2 separate regions of the Homo sapiens genome follow, and region 1 is linked to region 2. The links are contacts of gene promoters, found by promoter capture Hi-C in blood cells and fetal thymus (Javierre and others, 2016). All regions are on one chromosome and are shown on one strand. Each heading gives the region's core, a stretch centred on a gene start or on the middle of the fragment in contact. The rest is flanking DNA. Distances are from core to core; before and after follow the strand shown. Region 1 overlaps LOC105371777 (a long non-coding RNA gene). Region 2 holds the start of EIF1 (eukaryotic translation initiation factor 1).

Evidence for each region. Contacts are between HindIII fragments. The CHiCAGO score rates a contact against its expected background, and 5 or more counts as called.
Region 1: a fragment that was not itself captured here is called in contact with the fragment with the promoter of EIF1 in region 2 in 5 of 17 cell types (activated CD4 T cells, non-activated CD4 T cells, naive CD8 T cells and 2 more); the score reaches 10.5 in activated CD4 T cells.

Annotation. Positions count from the first base shown.
Region 1 is chr17:40,906,118-40,913,346 of GRCh38, reverse strand. All of the region lies in intron 1 of LOC105371777 (a long non-coding RNA gene), which reads right to left. Among named protein-coding and RNA genes, the nearest start is that of KRT20, 24 kb to the right of the region's middle. The HindIII fragment of the contact is 4,061 bases long and covers 552-4,612 here.
Region 2 is chr17:41,683,774-41,691,154 of GRCh38, reverse strand. It overlaps EIF1 (eukaryotic translation initiation factor 1), which reads right to left and starts at 2,270. Exons shown (of 4, transcript NM_005801.4): 1 at 2,086-2,270; 2 at 1,214-1,377; 3 at 966-1,067; 4 at 1-373. The coding sequence starts at 2,116. The coding sequence ends at 329. RefSeq lists enhancers at 752-1,660, 1,586-1,675, 1,661-2,569 and a silencer at 2,056-2,445. The HindIII fragment of the contact is 2,180 bases long and covers 311-2,490 here.

The sequences.
Region 1 (7,229 bases), core at 1,333-3,832, 780 kb after region 2:
GGAGAGTGGCGTGAACCCGGGAGGCGGAGCTTGCAGTGAGCCGAGATTGCGCCACTGCACTCCAGCCTGGGCGACAGAGAGAGACTCCATCTGAAAAAAAAAAAATAATAAAAAAAAATAAACAACAATAACTCTAACTGTGAAATTGCGTCCTATTCCATACTAAATTAAATCAGCTTAGACAGGCTGCTTTCATTTGTGTTATGGATGTCATTATTCTTTGTTTTCAAGAAATTTGTATTGGAATGAATGGAGTTGGAATAAAGAACCAGTGAAGAAGTGGTCATTAAATACCTGCTTCCTGCCTACTGCGGTGTGAGTCACTATTAGGAAGACAAAATAAGGAAGCTAGAACTTTAGGGAAGGAAATTACAATATACAAAAGAGTCCCTTTGCCCAACTGCAATTCCTGTCACCCATAATCATGGTAAATAATCCTAATAATTATTACCCTTGCTTGTATCATGATAAGGAAATTGATTTGAACTGGGAAACAGAAAACATGTCTCTTCAGTAAAGCTCTTTCCACCCTCCCACACTCAACAAAAGCTTCATAAAGCCACCCGTAACTCTTATGCCCCGTTCCACCGAGTCAACTCCTGTGACTGGCCTCACACCCTTCTCAAGTATCCAAGGCCTTCCCCGGTATGGTCTCAGCTTGTTTTTCCAGAGGGCGGCCGTCATTACCTGAATGGCAGGTTTGCTACGCAAGCGCCTTAATGTGGGGCTTTGTAGACATCACACCTGGGCCGTCATTAGTGTCGTCTGAAAATAATAATCAGCCAGCAGACCAAAGAAGGGCATTCCAAGAAAATTCACTACTACCAGTGTTTGGGGAAACCAGGGAATATCTAATTTACGTATTTATAGTTAATCAAAGAAAGGGCTAACTTACACACATCACACAAGGATAAGTCACCCCAACGTTTATTTATAACTACACCTGGCTACAGTGCTAAGAGTTGGGGGAGGCTGCGCACTTGTAGTTGGCAGCCCTGAGGAAGGAGGTAGCATCTCTAATCATTCCCAAATGGACAGGAGGCTGAGCCAGTGGTAGGAGAGCTTACTGTGGGAACATGGCTTTTTATATTTCTCTCTCAGTCTCCTATTCTCCTCCTACAATGTTAGGTGCTTGGAAGTTTCCAGAAGAGGCCTTTCTACAGGAGACAAGGCATTCTCTGTCTCTCTCCTCTGTCCACACCTCAAGTGTGGATCCACCAAAGGTCAATAGGGCCCTAGGGAGGAGATGACAGCATGCAAGACTGCCCTCTTCCACCCATCCACACTGTCTCTCAGTCAGCCAGATATCAGAGTGGCCAAGACCAGGCTCTGTCTTAGACCACACTGTGGCTGTCTTAGCACAGCAGATATCCACAGCCGGACCCTCCCCATCACATGAAGCAGAAGGAAGAAATAAGTCCCCTTGTGACAAGCACTTGCCTGCTATATGTTTTTACAGCAAACAAAGGTTAAAACTACATCCTTCAGAGAGGAACCACTGAGTCTTCAGGCGACTGGAGAAGGGGAGCTGGGAGCCTGCACCTCTGAGCAAGCCAGAGACCCATGCTAGGGGGTCAGAGATTGAGCAGGCTGGGCAAGAGGAACCCAGACCCCTGCAGGTAGGGATCATGGTGGGTAGAGTCTGGGGCTGGGAATTCAAGGCTTTGATCTATTTCCAGTATCTTTGTCTTCATAGTATCTGATCCTCCCCGTTTTGCCCCACCAGACGTGAGTAAGGAGGAGAATTCATAGCCAACTCCAATAATTCTTTATAATAAAACTTTATAAGTGGTATCTGCTACTCTTTATTTATTTATTTATTTGTTTGTTTGAGACAGAGTTTCGCTCTGTCGCCAGGCTGGAGTGCAGTGTCACGATCTCGGCTCGCTGCAACCTCTGCCTCCCAGGTTCAAGCAATTCTCCTGCCTCAGCCTCCCGAGTAGCTGGGACTACAGGCACATGACACCATGCCTAGCTAATTTTTGTATCTTTAGTAGAGACGGGGTTTCACCACGTAGGCCAGGATGGTCTCGATCTCTTGACCCCGTGATCCGCCCGCCTCGGCCTCCCAAAGTGTTGGGATTACAGCCGTGAAACGTCGCGCCCCGCCTGTGCTACTCTTAAAGGATCCAAAGGATATCTAGAAGGGATTCACGTGCTCGTTTGGGTCCCACAGTACATCGAGGTTTGGGAGCCTCTCAGATATTTGCTTCCTGTCCTCAATTTTGTTTGGGTGCCTCCAGTAACCTCTGATATTTATATAAAACTATCTCACTGTAAAAGGGGCAAAGACCTAGTCTTCTGCCTCCAGGGCTTCTCCTGTGGTCATTTCTCATGTCCTCGCCATTGTGTCAGCCCCAGCTAAATGTTTCTTCTACAGGAGGAAAGGGAGCATGTAACCTCTTGCTCTCAAAAATGGAGAGGGGAAGAAAAAGTTTAAGATGGGTAAAGAGAGACTAAAACTGCAGGCAGCCGTCTTGTTTTCTCAGTCTCCCCTAAACCCACTCCAAGCTGGACGAAACCATCTGTTCACAGAAAAAGTACAAAGGAAAGAAGGGTTTGAGAATGTCAGGTAGTAGACAAAAAAGTTTCAGTTCCTACCCTTACAATGATCCCTTCTCTAAGAGCTGGCTCCCTTTACAAGACAACTCGTCAGAGTTTATTTCTGTACTGGCATTTATGTCTTCAAGGCATCCAAGTATCTTGTGGATCTTTCAACAGATCAAAAGGCAGAAAGAAAAATGTTCTTGGATCAACTCCTAGAAAAATCTGAAACCAGATTTTCCTGAGATATTTCAGGCCAGTCAGTGCCTGTCAGCTTTATACTGTGGCATCTTTCTTTTCAAATATGGATTAAACCCTGCGATGAATGAAAAGATTAAAAGCTCATCATTCCAGCAGCCTTAGTTTCTAAATTGTTGTGCTATCTCCTTAAAAACTTCTGTGCATTTGTATCACGCTGTCTGCTCTTCGGGGCCACTGCTTGTGTTGCAGGGAAGACACAAAGCATGAGAGTTCCGAGCAGTGGGCAAAGATGCTTGTCAAGAGTGTTATAAGGGGGACCAGGCATTGGGAAAGGAGTTGAACCTGAGGGACTTTCAGATTCGATTATTTTCCTCTTAATCGGAGAAGAGTTTGAGTTTATAAACAACATAAAATAACAGATATATGGAAGATACTGACGTTTTGGAGGGCTATCAATAAGATAGGGCGTGGCCAAATTACAAATAAAGTTTATTAGGACACAGTCATGAACGTTTGTTTGCATATTGTCTACAGCTGCTCTTGCACAAGGACAGCAGAGTTGAGTAGTTGCAACAGTCTCTCCAGCCCACACAGCCTAAATATTTATGACCTGGCCTCTACAGAAAAGAAAAAAAAAAAGTCCATCCCGTACTATAGATATTAGAGCAGGAGAAAATGAGTTGAAATTACAGCAGAACAGTCAGGCCTATCTCTGTCAATATCTCTGACAATTGAAGGGGGCAGGCTATTAAATCTAAAGTTGAGAGGGCCTTGGCCCCTTCGCATGCTATTAAAGATGACTGTGGGTCATTTCAAAAACACCTGGATGGTTTAGAATAGGTGCAATCATTTAAAAGATTGAAAAGCATCTGCTTTTCCCCCAGGTAATTCATGTTTAGGGAACAAGTTAAAAATAGAAGATATATTTTGCTTTTCACTTTTAAAATTGTATAGCTTCCCAAATATTTTTCAAGATAATTGGTCAGCTGTTGCTCACTCAGAAGTAATGCTGTTCTTGGTAAAATGCCAATTTGAACAGAGAAAGAAGGATGGTAATGGTGACTCACAAACCAGTTTCACCCGGAGCCTGGGAGAGGGTGCTGCGGCCTTTTGGAATAGGAAGGCCACGAACACCCCCTGCTGGCTATAGGGCAACATAAACCCGAACTCATCCTTTTTCCTGATCCAAGGCTCGGGTTGGACAAAGATCAACCATACAAGTCCTGTGATGGAATCAAGGAATATCAAACATTCATAATTCATGCCCAAGGGATGGTAGCATCTTGAAATTCAAGTAGTTTGTGTTACATGTACAGCAGCAAAGAACCACTACTAAAACAAGAGATAACCAGGTTTTCAATTATCTCCCTTAAACCTCCTAACCCCATTTAAAAAAAAGTTTTACACTACAGCCTTCTACATCTCATTAAACACAATTCCTGTAACAATGAAAAAAGAACTTTCTTCATCGTTTGAAACAGATCCTAGCCAAGGGTCTTGTTCAAAATAGTTTTAATCATATGAAATTGCCAGGATCCTACTCTGCTGACCCCTACAAAAGGCAACCTGAATAGAATTAGTCGGTCGACAATTGACAAAGATATGCAGGAGAGCCTGCAGCTGTGATGAGGCTGCCCTCCTTGACTGATGGACACAGGGATTGTAGGCTAGGGACTCAGGACACAGCCCTCTGTCCTCACAATTTTCCTGAGCCTCCTCTGAATTCCTCTGACTGATGAAAATAGAGGCTGGGATTTCAAGTATCTTTTTCTCATTTAGGCAACCCTGCTCCACATGATACATAAAAATTTTTAATTAAGCTGTTTTTTTTTTTCCTTTTTAACACCAGTGTCCCAATAAAGAAGCTTCAGGAAAGGGGAAATGTTAAAATCGTGATCCTGTCATTGCCTCACTCTCTGAGGCTCTAAGAACAGGAATGTTTGCTAATAGATGGAGGAAAGGCCCTGTTGACTGTAACTGTGGGACTGCATGGGGATTATGCTACACAGAGCAGTGGAAGTTGAGGACTGAGGCTGGGATAGATGCAGACTGTGTCAAAAAAAACAAAAAAAAAACAAGCATTAAGAGGTCAGGGACTTCTGACTTGAAATCACAAGGGTCTGAGAAGCAAAAACATTTTAAAAGGTAAGAATACTAAGCAAATTAACATGTGGACTGGTGCATGTATCTAAATTTTGCAATAAAATCAATGTGAACCTGGGTTTCATGACCACAGTGGCCCAAATAATAAGCCCTTCTGTTGGCCCATTTTTCAGAGGAGTGTCACCCACACACACATGAGTTATAGGAAGAGTCTGAAGTCAAATAACAATTAAAGAAAAAGGGTAGGACAGCAACTCAGTCCCACAATTGTCTTTTTAAAATTAGGCAGAAATTTAAAAGCAAATTCTAAGTAGACTAATTTGAAGGATAAAGCGAGGAGAAAGTATGGGTGCCCATACCCTGAGCTCATCAAATACTTTGATCTATTTCTTAAAATGCCCATGAGGACTTAAGGCAATGGACTCTAACTTAAAAACACAAAGAACTATGGCATCTGATTTTTCAGACTTGAAAACACTGTGACCCAATTCCATCCTCCAGGATATGAACACAGCACGCTTTATAATTCAGTAATAGCCTGAATTATATCCTTAGCCTACAACATTACGTCTCCCAGGAGATTCCAATATGCAGTTTAAGGATGAGGACCACTGGCTGAAAGGTTTCTTTTGAATCTAATTATAATTCAATATAAAACTGGGGATAGAGGCTGGGCACAGTGGCTCACACCTGTAATCCCAGCACTTTGGGAGGCTGAGGCGGGCAGGTCACGATGTCAGGAGATCGAGACCATCCTGGCTAACACGGTGAAACCCCATCTCTACTAAAAATACAAAAAATTAGCCAGGTCTGGTGGTGGGCGCCTGTAGTCGCAGCTACTCGGGAGGCTGAGGCAGGAGAATGGCGTGAACCCGGGAGGTGGAGCTTGCAGTGAGCCAAGATTGCACCACTGCACTCCAGCCTGGGGGACAAGAGTGAGACTCTGCCTCAAAAAAAAAAAAAAAAAGAAAAGAAAAGAAAAGAAAACTAGGGATGGAAAGAAAGGAATGAAAGAGGGAAGGAAGGAAAACAGGAAAGGAAAGGAAAGAAAAAAGAAAAGAAAAGGGAAGGGAGACAGAGAGGGAGGGGGGAAGGAAGAATAAAGAAAGAGAGAGAGAGAAAGAAAGAAAGAGAAAGGCAAGCAGGGAGGGAGGGAGGGAGGGAGGAAGGAAGGAAGGAAGGAAGGAAGGAAGGAAGGAAGGAAGGAAGGAAGGAAAGGAGGGAGGGAGGGAAGGAGCTCTACAGCCACACAGCATATCCATCCGTTACAGGAGCAAATAAGAAAGTCAATCTTCCAGCAGAGGAAGCCAGAGCTAAATAAACACTTTAAATGTCATGAAATAAGACTTCAGAGCCCAAATGTTCCATTTTCTATTCAATAATACTATTTCCTTAAAGGTCTTGGTAACAGAGTTACCCCACGTATCTTGACCCCATATCCTGTGTTCATTCCCAGAACAAAGCTGACATGAATGATTCTTGTATGATCATTTACCAACAGAAACATGCAATCAAATTTCTTATTTTAATTAAGAAACATGGCACAATACATTTTAATTGGTAGTAGACACCATAAAAACAAGAAGGATTAAAAACACAAAGAAATGTCTTCCTCTTTAAAACAGATAATTTGGACTCCTCCTGTTCATCCATGCATTCACTTAATAACCATGGACAGCGTGCTTTCTATGTTAGATGCTGTATCCCCTAACACCCCTTTATAGCTCTTCATTGAGGTCTAGATATTTTGGCCCATGCTTCGGATGCAGCATTTCATGGGACACCCTGATGGATCTCCTGTGCTGTGCTTCCTTCTGTGGCTGTGGGTGCCACGCTGGAGCAATGCTTAGGAGGAGCGGAGTATTTCCAGGTGAGCCCCTACACTCACTGCACCTCCCATGCTCACTCTTCAACACACATTTGTTGGTAAAGGTCCAGTCCTCAAGCTTCAAGGTTTAGAAATTTTATTTTACCAAGGTTGGTCAGGAGCTAAGGGAATGGAGCCAGCTAAACCCAAGGAACAAGAAGCCCCCGTTCATTTACAATGGAAGTTGTCTTGCTGTTGTTTTGCCATTATACCATGAACCTGTCTTGGAATCAATGTGCCTGCACACTGAATTAGGTATCAGAAAATTGGTGATCATGGAATAAGGTAAAGGATTGAAAGGCATTTTTCTTAGGAACGCTTTTATACTGTTGGTGGGAGTGTAAATTAGTTCAACCATTGTGGAAGACAGTGTGGCGATTCCTCAAAGATCTACAACCAGAAATACCATTTGACTCAGCAATCCCATTACTAGGTATATACTCAAAGGATTATAAATCATTCTGCTATAAAGACATATGCAGACATATGTTTATTGCAGCACTGTTCACAATAA
Region 2 (7,381 bases), core at 1,021-3,520:
GGGAGAGCTGAGGAGGTTCCGGCCATAGTTGTTTGTAATCTTAGGGCTCTGGGCTTGGCTGAAACATGACGGTATTGCTTGGTTTCAGGCTTGACACTGCCAGGCGCCTATTGCTTGACCTCTGTTTAAATGAGGGACTTCAAGACTAGACAGCATGGCTCTTTTCAGTTTATTGCATGAAGGAGTTACACTAGTCCAAGTTAAAAGCGGACCCCAAATGGTTACATTATACAAGCTGTGAGGTTTTTAAACCTGTGACAAGGGAGAGAAGGGAAATTCTACTCATTGCAAGGAAATCCTCACTTAAGCTTCAGTGAGCCACAAGCACTTAAAACCCATGAACCTTCAGCTGATCGTCCTTAGCCAGTCCAATCTGAAAAGACAAAAGGGCAAAGTTTTAAATGGGGGACAGGGAGAGTTAAAGCCTCCATTTCTAATGGCAACAACCCTGTCTTCCTGCTACTACACTGCCCAAGAGCCAGGGGTGCGCACAATGGTTCAACAGAGGGTCCTCAGTTAAGAGCTACCTTTTTTGAACACTCAGTGCCTTCCAAGGTTCTGAATTAGTGTGAGAATGAGACTCATCAGGTATCTGAAATCTCTTCAATTATATCAAGAGCTGATCATGTAACAGTATTTTAGTATTAATACTCAGGAAATTCATTTTTAAAAACTCATGTCCTTACAAATACAGGAACAACCCAGCATTTGGCTTATTTTACAATGCATCTATATGCTATTCAAATTTGCATCTGTGAAGTAGATCCACAGAAACAGTAAACCAAAGGTAGACAAGTCCCTTCTGCTTTTTCCTATAAAACAGAAATAAGTCTATGTACTTTAAAACCCAACTGAGGTTTTGCTCAGCCTTACAAAGCCAACTTTTATGTCCCCAGCAGAAGCTAACAGACAGGATCTGAGATTTGCCAGCAGAGAGGCACAAATCAAGTAGTGACTGAACTCACCTCTACGAGGAACTGGCATATGTTCTTGCGTTGGTCACCCTGTAGCTGAATTACTTCTCCATATTCCGGATGCTCAATTACAGTACCATTGCAGGCAAACTTCTGCAAGCACAAAGGAAAACGAATTAGGCCTAGCAAGAGCATGAACGCATTTATCACCCCTTCCGCTAACAATACATACAACACAGCTGGCACCCCCTTGTGGACAAATCCATTATGACTTTCCCAAAATCTCACTGAAGACCTACTTTCTTAAACGCCTTCACTAGTTTCTTTTTATCGTAATCATCAGCGATCCCTTGGACAGTAGTAAGGGTCTTCCTGCCGTTTCTCTGTTGAATTCTTATATGGATATAATCCTCAGTGCCAGCAGGAAGCAGGTCATCACCCTTACTTGCATCAGCAAAGGGGTCTGAAAAAAAAGGTTAAGCTCGTTCAGAGCTGTCAAAGATAGGATGCCACTGCCATCCCCTCGGTCCCCAGGTGTTTTGCGCGTGCAGAAAACAACACTGAAATCGTCAGGGCTTGGGCCAGGCCGAATGTGTCCTTTGCTGGCTCTCCCCGAGCAGGTCAGTCCGGGACGGCCAGCTTCCCCAGGCTCGGGGAACGCCCGGGCCTCCCGCCCTCCCTGGGAAGCCGATCACATGTCGGGGGAGTCCGGGCTGCCAGGCGGTGCCCCACCCAGCTGATGCAACCCGCCGGAACCCGAGCTCCCGAGGCGGGGCTAAGCCTCCCACCCCCATTGGTGCACCCGCTTGCCACTTAGGGCTGGCACCGCCTTTCCCTCCGGATCCGTGACAACGGGTGGTGACGTAACGGACGTGACGCAATGGTGACGGGAGGGGCGGGTGTGGCCCGAGGAGGCCCAGGAGCCATTAGTAAATGCGCCACTGAGACGCCGGGCCCGCCCAAGGGCTGACCTACCGCCTGCTCCTTCCGGTCGCGCTCAGGGTCCGACCCCGGGGCCCAGGCCTTGATCCCGCTGCCCTGCGACCCTGGTCAAGTTTCCCCTGCCCGAGCTTACGAAGGCCCGGAGCGCTTGGCAACTTCCCGGAACACGTCTCCGGGCCCGGAAGGCCCCGCTGCCCCACCCGGGCCCGCGACCTTTCCCATAGCTTACCGAAAGAGTGGAGGTTCTGGATAGCGGACATACGATACGATTCCTTTTCCTCGGTGGAAACGGCCTGCGGAAGGCGGCGGCGGCGGTGGCGGGAGAAGGCGGGCAGGGGGGAACGGAACGTCGGGAAGCGAGGGGGCTCAAGGGGGAGGCTGCTGAATCCTCGGCGGCGGCTCAGTGACTGGGGCAGAGGGGCGGTGCCTGTGTTTAGTTATATAGCCGCGCCTCTGACGCCAGCGCGCTGCCCTCACGTCCTGACCCCACCCACAGCGTCGTGCCCCAAGCGCCCAGGCGGCGCCGCTTCCAATTGGTTTGGAGGCGGGGACATGGGATGGCGCTTGCGCAGGAAGTCTGCGGCAGGAGGGCGTCCTCTTGACTCTAGGAGAGCTGGGAGGGGGAGGGAAAGCTTGATCTGTCTCGGAGCCTGCGCAGTGCGAGTGGACGGTGTCTGGGTGCCGAGAATACCGGCCCAGGTTTCGAGCGCGCCTACGCACTGTGTCCTTTGGTACGTTCCACCTTCTTGACCCTGTTGCATCCCTGTCTTCTCGAAAAGGGGAGTTTCATATGGTAAATGAACACTCCTTAGAGAGGATTTAGATGATGAGCCTCCCAAACACGAGAAATCCCCGTTGTGTCAAACCCACCTACCTACCCACCCTACTACCCACGGAGTCACAGCGGGATTTAGGGCGGCACTTTGATTAATCAACATACAATAATATAATCAAAACGGTAACCGCATAATTTAGATTGCCATTTAGATTTATTCTAAAGTGGGTTAATCCGATCTAAAATTTTCATTTAGATTAGATTAATCCATCTAAGGAAAAAGTGTGCCCAGCTCATTGGCATGAGTTCAAGGTATAGTAACTGGTTCTGGGCCCCCCCGAGAATAATTCTGGCACCAGAGGGCGTCCTTCATGTGGCACAGCTTGTGTGGAGTAGAGCCTTCCTAGAGTTTAGATGAAATATTTCCTTCAAAACAGTCAACCTTTCTTGCTTTCAGTTTATTTATTTCAACACTCAGTTGTAGGGGTAAGTAGAGTGGTGAAAAGAGACCAGGAATTTTAGACTCAAAGGCCTCCGGGGATAGGCAGGTAAGTAGGATCAAGGAGTGCAAACAGCCAAGTGTGATGTAATGGGGTGGACTGGGGGCTGGAGTAAGAACTACGGGCTGCAGTGGCCGCTCACCTCCAGCCCATTGTGCTAGATCTTTTTCAAGAGTGCCAGGAAATCCAGGTGTTTACATAAAATCTCTTGATTTTTAAATATTGCCAATAAATTGATTTTTTTTTTGAGACAGAGTCTCACTTTGTCGCCGAGGCTGGAGTGCAGTGGCACTGTGTCGGCTCACTGTAACCTCCGTCTCCTGGGTTCAAGCAATTCTTCTGCCTCAGCCTCCCGAGTAGTTGGGGTTACAGGCATCCACCACCACGCCCGGCTAGTTTTTTAAAAATATTTTTAGTAGAGATGGGTTTTCACCATGTTGGCCAGGCTGGTCTTGAACTCCTGACCTCAGGTGATCTGCCTGCCTCGGCCTTCCAAAGTGCTGGGATTACAGGAATAAATTGAATTTTTGATACAACACTGCAAGCCAAACAAAAATATGCATGCCCATGGACTGCTGGTTTATGTCCCTGACAGTCAGGGTCACTGCCCTTGTGGAGTTGAAGGCCAGCGGGAGAGAGAGCCACTAAACAAATAATAAGATAATGAGGCTGGGCGCTGTGGCTTATGCCTGTAATCCCAGCACTTTGGGAGGCTGAGGTGGGCGGATCACCCGAGGTCAGGAGTTCGAGACCAGCCTGGCCAATATGGTGAAACCCTGTCTCTACTAAAAATACAAAAATTAGCTGGGCGTGGTGGCGTGTGCCTGTAGTCCCAGCTACTCGGGAGGCCGAGGCACAATAATTATTTGAACCCGGGAAGAGGAGACTGCAGTGAGCCAAGATGGCGCCATTGCACTCCAGCCTGGGCGACAGAGCAAGACTATGTCTCAAAAAAAAAAAAAAAAGGATAATGACAGATTGTGAGAGGTGCCAAAAAGGAGGTAAACAGGGTGATGTGAAAGGGCCAGGCTCCTTCAGATGGGGTGGTCAGAGAAGGCCTCTGGGGAGGCAGCATTCTGGCTGACAGAGGGTAGGAAGGAGTCCACTGTGGGGCAGGGCATGTGCCCACCAGAAAACTCAGAAAAACTCTGAGGGAGGAAATGCTAGGTGTACCTGATATATATATGTGTATGTGTGTGTATATATATATATATGTATATGAGTGTGTGTATATATGTGTGTGTGTGTATTTGTGTATATATGTATATATATATGTATGTGTATATATATATATATATAGACAAGGTCTCACTCTGTCACCCAGACTGGCTGGAATGCAGTGGCATGATCATGGCTTACTGCAGCCTCAACTGCTTAAAGCAGTCCCCCTGCCTTGGCCTCCTAAAGTGCTGGGATTACAGGCAGGAGCCAGTGTGCCTGGCCTGATACTTTGTTTTGATTCTATATTTACTAAATAAACTTGATTAATAGTTTGGTTTCCTTGACATCAGGAAGGAGGAACCATGGCTAGGTCATGGGCATCCCAGTCTCATGGTCTTCCCCTTTTGAGAAGCTAAGGCCCCAGTCAGCCAACTTGGGAACCTTTACTATCAGGCAAAATTCACCCCCGACATTTCACGTAGGTTCTTCTCTATTTTCCTTAAGTGTTGGCTGGTCCGAGAAATAAAGGGACAGAGTACAAAAGAGAGAAATTTTAAAGCTGGGTGTCCGGGGGAGACATCACATGTCGGCAGGTTCCATGATGTCCCCCAAGCCGCAAAACCAGCGAGTTTTTATTAGTGATTTTCAAAAGGGGAGGGAGTGTACGAATAGGGTGTGGGTCACAGAGATCATGTGCTTCACAAGGTAATAAGATATCACAAGGCAAATGGAGGCAGGGCAAGACCACAGGACCACAGGACCGGGGCGAAATTAAAATTGCTAATGAAGTTTCAGACACACATTGTCATTGATGATATCTTATCAGGAGACAGGGTTTGAGAACAGACAACCGGTCTGACCAAAATTTATTAGGCGGGAATTTCCTCGTCCTAATAAGCCTGGGAGCGCTACAGGAGACCGGGGCTTATTTCATCCCTCAGCGATGACCGTAAAAGACAGCTGTCCCCAAAGTGGCCATTTCAGAGGCCTCCCTCAGGGACGCATCCTCTTTCTCAGGGATGTTCCTTGCTGAGAAAAAGAATTCAGCGATATTTCTCCCATTTGCTTTTGAAAGAAGAGAAATATGGCTCTGTTCTGCCCGGCTCACGGGCAGTCAGAGTTTAAAGTTATCTCCTTTGTTCCCTGAACATTGCTGTTATCCTGTTCTTTTTTCAAGGTGCCCAGATTTCATATTGTTCAAACACACAAGCTCTACAAACAATTTGTGCAGTTAATGCAATCATCACGGTCCTGAGGCTACATACATCCTCCTCAGCTTATGATGACAGGATTAAGAGATTAAAGTAAAGACAGGCATAGGAAATCCCAAGGGTATTGATTGGGGAAGTGATAAGTGTCCATGAAATCTTCACAATTTATGTTCAGAGATTGCAGTAAAGACAGGCGTAAGAAATTATAAAAGTATTAATTTGGGGAACTAATAAATATCCATTAAATCTTCACAATTTATGTTCTTCTGCCATGGCTTCAGCGGGTCCCTCTGTTGGGAGTCCCTGACATCCCACAACACTTTGCCCTGACGGACATTGTTCTGCTGGAAAGGGTTTTGGGAGAGAGTTTGAATGAATGAATTGGAGCTGTCCTTCCCAGTGTGCATGCAATATTTTGTCACACTAAAATATTTTTTGAGACAGAATCTCGCTTTGTCGTCCAGGCTGTAGTGAAGTGGTGCGATCTTGGCTCACCACAGCTTTCACCTCCTGAGTTCAAGCTATGCTTCTGCCTCAGCCTCCCAAGTAACTGAGATTACGGGCAGGTGCCACCATGCCCAGCTAATTTTTGTATTTTGGGTAGAGAAGGGGTTTTACAACATTGCCCAGGCTGGTCTTGAACTCCTGACCTCAAATGATCCGCCCGCCTTGGCCTCCCAAAGTGCTGGGATTACAGGTGTGAGCCACAACACCCGGCCAAGACTCAGTTCTTTTTTTTTTTTTTTTTTTGAGACAGGGTCTGGCTTTGTCACTTAGGCTGGAGTGCAATGGTGCCATTATAGCTTATTGCAGACTTGAACTCCTAGGCTCAAGTGATCCGTTTCAGCCTCCTGAGTAGCTGGGACTACAGGCATGTGCTACCATAGCCAGCTAATTTTTTAAATTTTTGGTAGAGATGAGGTCTCACTATGTTGCCCAGGCTGGTCTTGAACTGCTAGGCTCAAGTAATCCTTTACCTCGGCCTCCCAAAGTGCTGGGATTACAAGCATGAGCCACCGCACCAGGCCTGAGACTCAGTTCTTGACTTGCCACCAGCTTTGTGGGTGACCTGGTTTACCTCTTGGCTTCAGTTGTATGCCCCATAAAAGGAGCACTGGGTGATCTCTTCCTGGGTCTGAAGTCTGAAGCGCTGTTTTCCCAAGTTGGGAGCATTTCCAGAAGGGTCTTCCGAAGTCTACCTTCCAGTGTGGGAGGTTACCCCAGCCCCAGGAGCCTGAGGAGTAATCATGGAGGCAGGAGTAATTAGTTTGAAAGTGGCATGCATGCCTGCTGTTAATGCTGGCTTCTTTATTAGTGTGCTCCTGGCTTTGAGATGCTGTCACCTGGGCAGCCAAGGGCAGGGTACAAAGCACAGGCTCTGGAGTGTCTGTATCTGAATATCATCTCCATCTTGTTGCCTGGGCGACTTAGCCCCTCCCAGCCTGCATTTTCTCCTCTGTACGACAGAGACAATAATGCCCTTCTCATAGGCTGTTGAGGGGATTTAAAGAGGAGACTATGTACAGCCGGATAAAAATGTAAAGTTATGAAACCACTATATAGATTATACCAGTTTCCCAGAGGGGAAGGGAGAGAGAGAGCCTCCGAGAGCAGCAGGGGACAGGAGTGAGCCCCTCTGAATGAGGATGGGACAGAGGTGGGCACCTCTCCATGGTGATCTCCTTGGGATGTGACAAGGGCATGGCTGTGTAGGACACCTTGGGACCCTCGACCTCAATAAGATTCTCCAAGGCCACCAACGTGGCACGGAAGCAGCAGAATCTCCCTCCAGGAAGGGATTGCACCCTCTGGGAAAATAGACATCTCCATGGTAACCAAGGCAGATAGATGATCTGGTCTAGGGGCTCCTTGTAGCTC